Regions from separate parts of the Homo sapiens genome. Here regions 1, 2, 3 and 5 are each linked to region 4. The links are contacts of gene promoters, found by promoter capture Hi-C in blood cells and fetal thymus (Javierre and others, 2016). All regions are on one chromosome and are shown on one strand. The core of a region is centred on a gene start or on the middle of the fragment in contact, and the rest is flanking DNA. Distances in the headings are between cores, read along the strand shown.

Region 1 (2,700 bases), core at 25-2,524, 640 kb after region 4:
TTTAAGACTATTCTCCGTCTGTTTATAATATTCTCTGGGTGACCACGTCACCAGAAACCTCTTGCAGTATTGAAGTCCAAATCCAACACAACTCTGTCACCAATCTATAAGCTCCATTTACCTCCATATTCCTAGTGAGTACATCATAACATCAGAGATACACAAAAGGCCGGGCGCAGTAGCTCACGCCTGTAATCCCAGCACTTTGGGAGGCCGAGACGGGCAGATCACGAGGTGAGGAGATCGAGACCGTCCTGGCTAACACAGTGAAACCCCGTCTCTACTAAAAATACAAAAAATTAGCCGGGCGTGGTTGCAGGTGCCTGTAGTCCCAGCTACTCGGGAGGCTGAGGCAGGAGAATGGCCTGAACCTGGGAGGCAGAGCTTGCAGTGAGCTGAGATCGCGCCAGTGCACTCTAGCCTGGGCAACAGAGCGAGACTCTGTCTCAAAAAAAAAAAAGAGATACACAAAAATTACTTACAGAAATAATAGGAATTATTTTGTGAAGTCCAAATAATATATATCAGGTTTTATTCCATGGTGTTATGTTTACAAGCAATTACTTGACTTGCAAAATCTGCTTGATATGAAGTGTGTTGTAATGGTTTTCTGCTGCTACTCCTCTGAAGTCCTGAGTGTTTCCACCATCCAGGGGGAAACAGCTAATATCTATCTGCCTGTTCTAAAACATTACGTGCAAGTACATACACACATAATCCCTTTCCATCTTCTGAGATTTAGCAAACGATTACATGTTGAACAATTTAGCAGTCTATTGAGTGACTTTTCATTTGCTATTAAAGTACGCAGATATATGGTCCTAGGGAATGCGCATGGGCTTTCGTTGTATATCTTGGGACCTACAATTTCTGGCATGTTAGGCAAGTTACTTAACTCTGAGGTTCTATATTTTGAACTGTAAAGTGAAAATGATGATAGTCATTGAGTTGCAAGGAAAGAAATTATAATGAAGTCATGAGGGGTCAGGTTTCCTGAGTTCGAATCCTTCTTTCACCACTGTAGTGGATGCTGTAGTGCTCCACTCAGATTCCAGAACTGAGAAACTCATGCCCATGGCTGCTGGAATTATGGGTTGTTGATATCTCACAGCCAAGTTTCTTCTCAGGAAATGTCCTCTCTTGGTCAAAGAGAGCTGCTCTGTCTAATGCTACACCCTTCTCCTGGGGACAGTCTGAAAGGCTTCAAAGTCTTGGCATTCCTTCTTCAATTCAGCCCTCCAGAAATGCCTGGGAAGTCACCTGTAACCAGTCTGACCCAGTCTTGCTTCTCTGACCCCCTGACAGGTCCTGGTCCAGAAAACACCCCCAATAAACTTTACACAAATAAATTTCCAATTCCGAGTCCGCTTCCTGGAGTCTTGGTAGTTCTGTGAAATTTACAGCTTATTGCATATAGAGGTCACATATATAATTACACATGGTGGAATTGAAATTGAAATTCTGATAAGAATCCTGTGATTTCGAGTCCAGGTCTCCTGTTGGTCTCCATGATTCTATTTCATTCATGAAATAGGTTGGAGGAACTCACAACACAATAGACCCCATATTTCAGCTCATTAATAATCAACATATTCTGGTCTCAGTGGCCATTATTTTTAAGAAGTTGTATACAACATTATAATCAGTGTGATCTAGTCAGGTTTTTCTACTACAGTGGGGCAGCCTGGAACTCAGTCAGATATACTTGTTTTTCTCAAGTCTTTATGAGATTCATTTTCATATTTTTAAAATTACATTTTGAACCGACACAGAGCGCAATTTTGGAGAGGTGATCCTATAAACGAACAAAGGTCACTGCCATTCATTCCTTCATTTACGGTTTTTTATTTTTTTTTAGACGGAGTCTTGCTCGGTCGCCCAGGCTGGAGTGCAGTTAAATGAAAAAACGTACCCAGACAGAGGTTCTAAAACAGCACCAAAATATTAATTTAATGAGTGGAGATTAGTTTTCTTTATCAACACTACAATTTTCTTTTCTTTTTTTTTTTTTTTTTTTTTTTGAGACGTAGTCTCACTCTGTCGCTCAGGCTGGAGTGCAGTGGCACAATCTCGGCTCACTGCAAGCTCCGCCTCCCGGGTTCACACCATTCTCCTGCCTCAGCCTCCCAAGTAGCTGGGACTACAGGTGCCCACCACCACGCCCAGCTAATGTTCTGTATTTTTAGTAGAGATGGGGTTTCACTGTGTTATCTAGGATGGTCTCGATCTCCTGACCTCATGATCTGCCCGCCTCGGCCTCCCAAAGTGCTGGAATTACAGGTGTGAGCCACATTGCCCGGCCCATTTATGTTGTTTTTAATCCATCTAACCAGCCACCATATATTGTGTGCTTCCCATGTACCACAACACATTCTGAGAACTTGCCACACATGCTCTACTTTCGTCTTCACATCAACAATGTGAATCTTAAGCTGTGCTGAATTTTGTCCAAAATGACTCAGATAGGAAAAGGCAGAATAAGGAATACATTCCAGTTGTCTCCAAAGTCCACCCTTTTCTAAGTGTCACATTATATTGTCCTTGCCACTGGCACACAGCTTAAATAAAAGTCAAACCATGAGAAGCCATAGAAAGTAATATCAGAGTACAGGTGAGAAGTTGCACTTACATAAATGATCATTCAAGACTTCCTGGAGAAGGCACGAGTTGTCCTTTGGAGTGACCAAGACTCACTTCCAA
Region 2 (2,700 bases), core at 9-2,508, 830 kb after region 4:
CATCCCAAGCCTCCATCTGTGCTCACTCACTAACAAGCCATTGGACAAAACAAGCCCTAAGAATGAGACGAGCCCAGAGACAAGAAGTGAGGAAGTGTGGCTGACCACAGTGGAAGGACATTGCAAAATTACATGAAAAAGAGCTGGATACAGAGAAGGGTAAAGAATTGATGGCATTAATTCCTCCAATACCAGGAAGGAGGAGGAAGAGCAATTAAGCCAGGTGTTTTGCATACATGTCCAACAATCCCAATTCTTTACCTTGCTGTTTCTGCAAGGCCACATGCTGGAGCAGAACAGTGCCTGCACTCCTTTAAATAGGATGTGGATCTCTGGTTCATCAGCCCCAATCAGGTCTGCTTCCTTCACACATAGGAGGCACTCCAGCGTCTGTCTGGCTCCTGAGGGCATTGGAGGCTAACACTACCATCATAAAATACTCTTAACATTGCAGGTGGCATGCATACCTGACAGTACCCAAACCAAGGAGTCTCCTACCAAGTAAAGGAAGTATTGCTAATTCAGTTGTCTTATGAGATAAATAGCTAAATAACAATGTGGCCCTTGTTTGAACATTCTAAACTTGGTGAAGTATAAACATGAAACATTTACTCTAATTGTTGCCTTCAATGTGGCTATGTTAAGCCTCCTCCTCAGTCCACCTGAAGACACAGTGTCCTGTTTAATTTGGCCTTCGCATTGCCCCCTCCTCTCAGTGCTCACTGTATCTTGTCCTGAAGAAATTGGAGAGAGGAGGGGCTGCTACATTCCGTCCTTCCCTCCCCCGTCTCCGTCTCCAGGGAAGGGAGATGTCTTCTCCAGGGAGGAAGGAAAAAGTTATTTTACTTGACGGATCATTGTAGGCCACCTATGAGCTCCAAGTAGTTGGTACTCCAATGCTCGCTGTCCCACGGGTGCACATAGGAAGCCCTCTGGGGTCTCTCCACTGCACTATTTCCTAATGTGAGAGATGCACTCTAAAATATCTCCCAGTTCCTCCATAGACACACTCACGTCTCTCGCCCTGGCAACCCACCCCACGGGCTGCACACCAGCAACACGATGTGTCAGACACCTTTGATCCCCATCTCTCATCCTCTCAGCCACCACTGTGCTCCGGCCATTATCATAGCAACTAGTGATAGCACCCTGCCTCTGCTGCAGGCATCTCTTGCTTTCTGTCTGGGGCCTCTCACCTTATGAGCTGCATGCTGGAGTCTGGTCAGCCACTCTGGTGCATGTGCAAACCAGAAGTGCAAGCACAATCGCACCTCCAGGACCCTACATGACGAATGAAAACTAAAACACAGTTTTCTACGTCTTCCGTTAACAATTTCAAGGCGGCATCCCAACTGTTGCCCATAGCGGCAACACAACTGCCCGCAGCAGTGACCTGCTCAAGAATGCACCCATGGGATTGGCTTTCCCTCCTTCCATATCACTTTTCCCATCCCTCTGTTCCTGATCCCCAGAATGTTTATGACAATTCACTAAGTTAATATAAATGAATACTTAGCATGGTTCTTGGCACATAATGGTGAACAAGTATTAAGTATCACTGTAACATTCTATTGGATGTGTTTCTCAAATAATTACAGAACTTTCAAAATATTGCATAAAAATGTAAAATATATATAGTACACATTTGTTATATGTATTACACATGAATATATATAGTACACATTTGTTATACATATTACACATGTAATATAAATGATAGCCACTGTCTACATGTAGCTTTTGAGCATTTGTTGGTGCCACATGTTCAAATGTTTTCCATGTATGGGGTTACATAAAATATACTATTAAAATTAATTTCATCTGTTTTTTCATATTATTAATATAAAAATTTTATGTTAATGTTAACAGACATGTTATGTTATATTAATATGTGGTAATTTACAATGTTAGTGTTTCAAACAAAAATGTTTAAGTTACATATGTAGCTCACATTATATTTTTATTGGACAACACTGCTATATAAGGTGCTTAACACAGTACCTAGAACAGAGTAAATTTTCAATAAAATCATTACTTTACTCAAAGTTATCTCATCTAATCCTATGAGGTAGGTGCTATTACCCATTTTACTGATAAAGAAACTGATGCATAGCCAAGCAAGTAAATAACCTGTAGGCAGCTCCAGTGCCAGGCAGTGGTAGTAGAGCTGGGACTCCGATCCTGTCCCTGCATTTCCAGAGCTTATGCTCTCTCTCCTATGATATGTTCACTGTTTTGAAGACATCGGTTATCTGATTCTCCTAAGTGACCCACTGCAAAAACCTGAAACTCAAAGTTCCTGGGATTCGTCCCAGTGGGGAGCAAGGACACACAGTTTGGTTTGACCATGGCAGGTTCCTCAGCTGGGCTTGAGGGGAGAAACTTCCCACAGGGCAGGGACCTGGAAGATGGGAACATCTCCTGAAGGGGAGGGAAGCTGATGAGTTTCAGAGACCAGCACCAAGACAGGCAGGGACCCTGGGTACTGGGCCCTGAGTGAGAATCACTTCCTGATTTGATCACAGGTTTTCACATGACTTTGGTTTTTTCGGCAGCTCCATCCTTATTAATATTATGTGTCTAAGAGGAAGTGACATTGATTGTTGCTGATAGGCAACAGTGTGGTCTATGCCATCAAAAGTCCACCCTTCTTGTGGCAGGACACTGAGACTGCCTGCTGGGGCCCGCTGCTGGGGAGAG
Region 3 (2,700 bases), core at 11-2,510, 870 kb after region 4:
TCATTATTTTTAACTCAGATTTTATACATCATTTTTATTCCAATCAACATGCTTTTGTAACTTTAAATAATCTGTTTTTAAATATCCTTTATACCAGTACCACAAATGCAAATATATTGAAAGGAAATATGACAGGCTGTTTAACAGGAACATGGGCCCTGGAGCCAAAATTGTCTGATAGAAACCCCATCTCCACTGTTTGCCAGCTATGTAAATTTAGACAGTTTGTAAGACTCCTTAAAGTTTCTGTGTGTCAACATCCCCATGTGTACAAAGGGGATAATAAGAATATCTAAAGATAAGGCTGTTGTGATGATTAAATGCTTTGCTGTAAAGCACTTACAACAGTACCCAGGACAAAGTAAGCCCTCAGTAAATGTGAGATATTCTTTTTTTTTTTTTTTGAGATGGAGTCTCATTCTGTCACCCACGCTGGAGAGCAGTGGCGCGATCTCGGCTCACTGCAACCTCCACCTACTGAGTTCAAGCAATTCTCCTGCCTCAGCCTCCCAAATAGCTGGGACTGCAGGTGTGCACCACCATGCCCAGCTAATTGTTGTATTTTTAGTAGAGATAGTGTTTCACCGTGTTGGCCAGGATGGTCTCGATCTCTTGACCTCATGATCCATCTGCCTCGGCCTCCCAAAGTGCTGGGATTACAGGCGTGAGCCACCACACCCAGCCCAAATGTCAGTTATTCTTGTTGTGACAAATAATTAAATAAATAAATAAATAAATAGTATCACTTGCTACAGATAGAAAATAACCACCAAAAAATGCATAACTGTGAAAAGTTATTAAAAGTTCATCCACGCACCATCAAAGGCATCTGTGTGTCATCAGTAGTATACATTCCACACTCAGGCAAACACTGTTGCAGAAAGTGCCAAGAAACTCTACCAAGTGGTGCTGTCACCGGGCAAACTAACTTGGGAGTTACTCTGGTGTTGCTTTAGACTTAATTCTGAGGTTTCCATTAACCTGAGAGCTGCATGTGTCCAGGGAAAATTCCCTTTGGAATCCACTGTTTTGGTTCATCCAAAAGCAGCTGGAAAACATCTGTGCCCAGGGATTAGGAACTGATTCCTCCTCTGTGGGAAAGAAAGCAGTCTCTCAAAGCGAGCTGCTCAGCAACAGGCTCATTAGCACTTTGTACTTCTTGAGGTTTGTTTATCTACAGATCTCAACATGCCTCAAAACATTCATTAATGCTCACAACACCCGGTCAGCCCAGAATCACAGTCCCCATTCTGCAGATGGGAAAATTGATAGAAAGGGCTATTAAGTGACTGCACTCTTAAGTGACTGAGCCATTAAGGCACTGTTGAGCAAAAGAAGAGTTGTGGCAAGAAGAAAAGTGATGACTCCTGAGGATCCGGGCCTGCAGTACCACCCCACTAATCAAGCATTCGCCCTGGGATGGAGACACGCAGATGGCAGGAGGCCACACGGTTCCCTTTATTGTTCCCATGACAGTGTGGGAACAGGATGGCATCTTTGGAGAGAATTCCAGAAGTGCCAGGCACTGGGCATTTCATACATTTTTACTGGATGAATATGTGGAGGGAATTTTCACGAAGGAGTCCAATTTCTCCTTCCCATCCAATTTCCCACAAGAGGAGTGAAGATAATTCCAGCAGGACCTAGAGCTAAGCCAGATTTGGTTGGGAAATTTATAGCCCAGAATAACAAACAGGTGCGTAGATAGTGTCAGGAAAGGAGGCCAAGAACATGAAGGCATCGCATCCAGGGAGTAAGATGAAGAATAGAACCAGAAAGCAGGACCATAGCTTGAAGCTATGGAAGAGGTTTAAAACAAGTTGTGAAGATGAGATGTATAAAGAATCTTCGAAATGTTCATTTCTTTTAACTCAAAAAAAAAAAAGTTAAGGAATCTCTTCAAAGCAAATATTAGGAAAATTATATAAAGGTTCCTATACAGTTGTATAAAAATATCTGTAAATATATTGTTTTAAAAGTGTAATCCAGGGCCAGGCGCAGTGGCTCACGCCTGTAATCCCAGCACTTTGGGAGGCTGAGGTGGACAGATCACAAGGTCAGGAGTTTGAGACCAGCCTGGCCAACATAGTGAAACCCTGTCTCTACTAAAAATACAAAAATTAGCTAGGCATGGTGGCACACACCTGTAATCCCAGCTACTCAGGAGACTGAGGCAGGAGACTCGCTTGAACCCAGGAGGCGGAGGTTGTGGTGAGCCGAAATGGTGCCACTGCACTCCAGCCTGGGCAACAGAGCAAGACTCCATCTCAACAACAACAACAAAAAAAGTGTAATCTATACTAACAAAAATTAGAAATAGGCCGGCTACAGTGACTCATGCCTATAATTGAGGATTTTGGGAGGCAAAGGCAGAAGGATCACTTGAGCCCAGGAGTTTGAGACCAGCCTGGACAATAAAGTAAGAATTTGTCTCTACCGAAAAATGCAAAAAAAAAAAAAAAAAAAAAAAAAAAAAATATATATATATATATATATATATATATATATATATATATAAAATCTAAATATTCAGAATTAGGGATCGATTTAAAGAGGTTATGTTACGCCAATACTACAAAACCATTAAAAATATTTTTAAGAAAATTTAATTATATAAACAAGATCATAATAAACAAGTGAAACTTCAGGATACAAAATAATTAACGCAATCATAAAGATACCAGTATTTTATACTTAAAG
Region 4 (2,700 bases), core at 174-2,673:
GCCTAACTCTTGTCTATAATATGGTGATCATATGATGGCAACAAATATCACTCAGGTAACAGCAGCCCCCCACACCATTTGCTATCAAAAGGACTGGGGTGTGTTGGATTCATTCAGTCACATGCGCCTGAGGCCAGCCAGTCTGAAATTATTGAAACAGAATCGCACAGCACACAGTAGTCTCATGTTGATCTAACTTATACTTCAGACTTGCTGAAGGACTAATTTCTATCACAGCCCTGCCAATATTGATTGTTTGGACTCAAAATTACATAAGTAGAATGATTTTTATTTTTTTCTCCTAAACTAGAAAGGATCACAGTAGTGCTAGTATATTCCTGTTTCCACTGGCTGGTTATACATGCTGGAAAAAATTAGTCAAAAGAAAGCAACTGAAGACAGAATATAGGTCTTGAATCGCATTCTTAAGTCCCCTACGAATAAGTCTGGGTGCTTGCAGTAGTGCCTAAACTTGTTTATTGTAAACAGAGCTGTTAATCCTCCACCCTCACCGGACCCATTATTTTAAAAAAATAAACAACAACAACAACAAAAAAAACACTTTGGTAGCCTACATTTAGGTAAAAGAAACGAAACCAGTGGAGAGGTGGAAGTGTCCTTTTGTGGTGGAGGTTAGTAGGCATTACTGGTCTCCTGTCACTTCCCTAAGTCAACAGGAAGGAAATATATCCACTAGGGCCTCTGCTAATTTGTTTCTAATTTAAGGACAATTAGAATTAGGATGTAGGAATTAGGCAATTCCTACATCCCCTAACCCCCCACCCCCCCAAAAAAAAGCAGTCAGAGCTGCACGCTTCTCTCACTATCCAACGAACTGGTACCTCTCTGGAAATAACGGAGGTTATGAACTTTGTACTAACTTCCAGGGGTATCTAATAAACAGAGCGGTGGTCTTGGGACCCAGTCAGTGAATAAGTCTTCGTTCTGTTTTATACTGTTTCTTTTCTGCGATTTTCTTTTCTACCCCAAAGTTTCCCACTACTAACTCTGAAAACACCTCTAGGATGACGCACTCTTCGAGCTGTCCTGGTGAAGAATCCTTTCTTGTGACCTTTAGGGCAAGAAATATGTTCCAGGAAAGAAAAGAAACGACTGTTCCTCCTTCTCCAGGTACTCTGGGAAAAAACAGGTCAAAGGGAAAAGGCGCAAACACCAAACTCTCCTTCCCTTTCTCATTTCCACACTGGCAAGTTGTGTTTGCCTTCTAACTTGTCTCGGAAGGCAAGCAGAGCTCACAGCACCAGCCCCAGGCGGCGGGTGGATTATTTACAGGGGGATTTAAACCCGCTCCGGCGCGGGGGCGTGGCCGGGCGGAGTCCCGAGGCCCGAGTGGGCGGGGCGGGGGCGGGGCTCCCGGCCGCTCGGCGCAATGTGAAAAAGACCCGAGCTCGGGGAGTGAGCGCCTGTCTCTTTAAATGCCACGGGCTGCGCTCCCGCCCGGGAGCCCGGAGCCGGATCTACAATCCCGTCCCTCCAGCTCCGGTGCTTGTTGCTCGCCCGGCCCAAGCGGGAGCTGTTGCCGCCAGGCTGCGAGGCTGCCGTCCTCTCCTCCTCGCGCCCCACCTCCCCCGAGAGCTGGCTGAGGAGGGGCAGCAGCCCCAGCTGGCGGGAGGAAGCGCGGTGTGAACAGGGATTGCCCCCCGCCTTCAAGTATCGGGGCGCTACGCAGCCGCGGGGGAAAGACATGCCCCTAGTCTGCCCGCTGCGCTGCCCTCTGCCCAGCCTCGCTGCCGCCCGCGCCGGGAGAGGAGGGACTGCCGAGCCTACACCTTCAAACTCGCCCTAGAAGTCTCGGGGCGCGGCAGGGAGCCCTTCCCCAGGCCCCACGGCCTTCACCTCTCCGCGGGTGAGTTTGTGCAGGTAACCCGAGCCTGAGGGCGGGCGCGGGGGAAGGGCGGGCGAGCCGGGAGGAGGTAGCGCTGCAGGTGAGCCAGGTAGGGTGACTCACCTGTCCAGGTCGCGCTCTGAGATCCTCGCTTGTTCCTCTGGGGATGGATGCGTTGGTGGGGAGGAGGCGTCCCCGGGGCTAGTTAGGGCCCGAGGGTGGGAGGGGAAGTTAGCAGAGGAGGGGGGGGATTGGCGTAAAGTTTCTCTTTCCTTCCCTCTTCCTGCCCAAGCTTGGCAGGTAGGGCGCAGGCGGAAGCAGTAGAAGCTGCTGATGCAATGGGCTTTTGCCAGGGCCAGGCGAAGGGCTGGGGACAGGGAGAACAGGAGTTGCCCAGTCTCCTGTGACCGTGACCTTACAGGTGGAGAAACGAGGGAAAGCTCGCTACACCCGAGACTTCCCCCTAAAATGGCTCCAGGTGCTGAGCCCCCACCGATTCTTTTTCGGAACAAAACGCCCTTTTCACGGAGGGGCTCCTGCATGGCTTTCTTGCCTTCCTCTCCCAACAGGTAGCCTCAGCCCCTGTCCGGGGACCTGTGCAAATGACCCTGGAGTTGGTTTCGCTTTCTCCCCTTGCGGCGGTGTGAACGTGTGTCCGCAGCGTGATGGGCAACCAGGTGGAGAAATTGACCCACCTAAGTTACAAGGAAGTTCCCACGGCCGACCCGACTGGCGTGGACCGGGACGACGGGCCCCGCATTGGGGTCTCCTACATTTTCTCCAATGACGATGAGGACGTGGAGCCGCAGCCGCCGCCTCAGGGGCCAGATGGCGGCGGCTTGCCCGACGGTGGG
Region 5 (2,700 bases), core at 196-2,695, 840 kb after region 4:
ATTAAGTGACATCTCAAATATATCATAGTGATAATGGTATTTATTTTTAAATAAAATAAAATAAAAATAATTTTTCATTTTACTTTAAATAAGATAAAATTATTTATTTTCATAATAAAAATATGTTGCCCAGGTTGGTCTCAAACTCCTGGCCTCAAGCGATCTTCGCACCTCAGCCTCCCCAAACCCCTGAGATTACAGCGTGAACCAGCATGCCAAGTCCTATAATGGTAATTTTAAACGGTCATATTTGATCAGGTGCAGTGGCTCAAACCTGTAATCCCAGCACTCTGGGAGTCCAAGGCAGGCAGATCACTTGAGGCCAGGAGTTTGAGACCAGCCTGGGCAACATGGTGAAACCCCGTCTCTAATAAAAATATAAAAATTTTGCGGGTCTTGGGGGCATACATCTGTAATCCCAGCTACTCAGGTGGCTGAGGCAGGAGGATTGATTGAACCTAGGAGGTGGAGGTTGCAGTGAGCTGAGATGGTGCCACTGCATTGCAGCCTGGGTGACAGAGTCAGACTCTGTCAAAAAAAAATAAGGAAATCAACTACTTCTTTTTTTTTTTTTTTTTTTTTTTTTTTTTTGAGACGGAGATTCACTCTTATTGTCCAGGCTGGAGTGCAATGGTACGATCTTGGCTCACTGCAACCTCCACCTCCCAGGTTCAAGCAATTCTCCTGCCTCAGCCTCCCGAGTAGCTGGAATTACAGGCACCCACCACCACACCCAGCTGATTTTTTTTTTTGTATTTTTAGTAGAGATGGGGTTTTGACATGTTGGCCACACTGGTCTCGAACTCCTGACCTCAGGTGATCCACCTGTGTCAGCCTTCAAAGTGCTGGCATTACAGGCATGAGCCACCACGCCCAGCCATCAACTTCTATTTTTAGAAAGCTAGTAAGAAAAAGGAAAAACTCAAGCATCCATCCTGCCTTTCTCGTGCAAACAATACCTAAGGGTAACCAAATAATTAATAGGGAAAATATCTTATTATTAAATGATCCCATCTATTAAATGAAGAAAGGTTATAGAACTGGAATATAGAAGGAATATAGAATCACCATTTTGCAACCCTACTACAATGACAGATCCAGTCCAAGATTTGACAAGGTTTTTGTTAAAGGCCAGATAGTATTTTAGGCTTCACAGGCCTAAATGGTCTTTGTGGCAACTACTCACCTCTGCTCAAAAGAAGCCATAAACAATACACAAATGAATATGTATGGCTGCATTCCAATAAAGCTTTACTTACAAAAACGGGCAGTGGTCAGGATTTGGCTAATGGGCCACCACAGTTTGCTGACCTCTGATCTGGATGGTGGTCATCAATGTTTCCTAACATCTCAAAAAGAGAGACAATCCTACTGACCAAGCACTCTCAAGCACGATGCAGCTAACTTAAAAACAATAGCAAAAGAAAATCATATTCAGAAATGTTTAGTTACACTTCTAAAGATTTCAAAGATCAAAGAATAAATCAAAATGTAAATCAGAAAACGTTTAGAACTAAATGACAGCAAAAACACTGCATCGAGCTTGCAGAATTCACCTAAAGTGGTACTTAGAGGGAAACTATAGCCTTTAATATTACATTAGAAAAGAGGGAAGATTGAAAATTAATGAGATAAGCTTGCAAACATTTAGGGAACTAACAACAAAATAAATCCACAGAAGTAGAGGAAAATACATACTAAAGACAAGAGGAAAAGTTAGTAAATTGGAAACAAAAATACAAAACAGAGAAAAAAAAGAGCCAAAAGCTGATTATTTGAAAAGAACAGTAAAACAGACACAGCAGGTAAACCAGCTAACATTCACACTTCAAACAGTCAGGATAGAAAGGAACCAATAAATTTCACATTAAAAATGCTGCAAATGACAGATTGGAAAGATTAAAAAGAAAGGCAATATTTTGTTTACTAATGATTGCAAACAACAAGGATTTATTCCAGGGGTTCCCAATCTTTTACCTAGGTACATATAATTCTTCGTGTTTTATTCAGAATCCATTATTTTATACTTGATTCTGCCTCTTCATTTCTCCTACTCCACTGAACTTCCCTGCTCACCCTCAGCTGATTGATAACCTCATCTCAATGTCACTGAGGAAATAGAAACCATAGGTGGCAGTCCCCAAACTTCTCTCACTTCCCTAAATTTACTAACCCACCTGCCCTGGACCCATTTTTTTACAAGCTCAAACCCTTACAGTCACATTTACAAATGACTTTTCCTGGCCTCCCTTTTTGTAACTGGTGTTTGAAGATTTTCTTCCCAACGTTGTGCTCAGCAGGTCTCCTCCATCCCACTAACAATGTCATTAACACACAAGTGAACAGGTGCAGCTGCCTCTTACCCTGGCTCCCTGACTTCTGTCATTTTCCCCCAAATCACTCTAGCAACAACAGACAATCTAATTTCTATTTTTAAAAAGGTAAATGAAAGAAAATGAATCATGCTCTTCAGCTCCAAAGCCATCCACAATCCCTCCTGCCCATCATATGAAGACTAAACTTGGTGTTGGCCATGCAAGCCTCCAGCTTCCCCCCAGCCCTGTCCTCCACTGCACTCCTGCCTTTCCAGGATATCCTTTCCCTGCAGACTTGCTCATTGAAGGACCCCTTCCTGGGAACTGCCTACATCTCCTCCCTCTCTCCCAAACTCCCATGAACTTCATCTATATAAAGGATTTG

What was found. The method cuts DNA at HindIII sites, captures the fragments that hold promoters and counts their contacts. A CHiCAGO score of 5 or more calls a contact.
Region 1: a fragment that was not itself captured here is called in contact with the fragment with the promoter of LRATD2 in region 4 in 3 of 17 cell types (megakaryocytes, M2 macrophages and naive CD8 T cells); the score reaches 7.9 in megakaryocytes.
Region 2: a fragment that was not itself captured here is called in contact with the fragment with the promoter of LRATD2 in region 4 in 6 of 17 cell types (naive CD4 T cells, naive CD8 T cells, activated CD4 T cells and 3 more); the score reaches 7.1 in naive CD4 T cells.
Region 3: a contact is called between a fragment that was not itself captured here and the fragment with the promoter of LRATD2 in region 4, in 1 of 17 cell types (total CD8 T cells). The highest score is 5.2, in total CD8 T cells.
Region 5: a contact is called between a fragment that was not itself captured here and the fragment with the promoter of LRATD2 in region 4, in 4 of 17 cell types (M0 macrophages, M2 macrophages, naive CD4 T cells and 1 more). The highest score is 6.6, in M0 macrophages.

What each region holds. Positions count from the first base shown.
Region 1 is chr8:125,918,168-125,920,867 of GRCh38, reverse strand. No RefSeq gene overlaps it. Among named protein-coding and RNA genes, the nearest start is that of LINC00861, 32 kb to the left of the region's middle. The HindIII fragment of the contact is 5,423 bases long and covers 1-2,700 here.
Region 2 is chr8:125,730,057-125,732,756 of GRCh38, reverse strand. No RefSeq gene overlaps it. Among named protein-coding and RNA genes, the nearest start is that of LINC02964, 210 kb to the right of the region's middle. The HindIII fragment of the contact is 4,498 bases long and covers 1-2,700 here.
Region 3 is chr8:125,690,233-125,692,932 of GRCh38, reverse strand. No RefSeq gene overlaps it. Among named protein-coding and RNA genes, the nearest start is that of LINC02964, 170 kb to the right of the region's middle. The HindIII fragment of the contact is 6,595 bases long and covers 1-2,700 here.
Region 4 is chr8:126,557,201-126,559,900 of GRCh38, reverse strand. It overlaps LRATD2 (LRAT domain containing 2), which reads left to right and starts at 1,423. Exons shown (of 2, transcript NM_174911.5): 1 at 1,423-1,867; 2 at 2,416-2,700. The coding sequence starts at 2,512. LOC105375751 (a long non-coding RNA gene) reads right to left here and starts at 2,025. Exons shown (of 6, transcript NR_188069.1): 1 at 1,970-2,025. RefSeq lists a silencer at 1,291-1,470 and an enhancer at 1,185-2,021. The HindIII fragment of the contact is 2,746 bases long and covers 1-2,140 here.
Region 5 is chr8:125,713,378-125,716,077 of GRCh38, reverse strand. No RefSeq gene overlaps it. Among named protein-coding and RNA genes, the nearest start is that of LINC02964, 190 kb to the right of the region's middle. The HindIII fragment of the contact is 387 bases long and covers 1,252-1,638 here.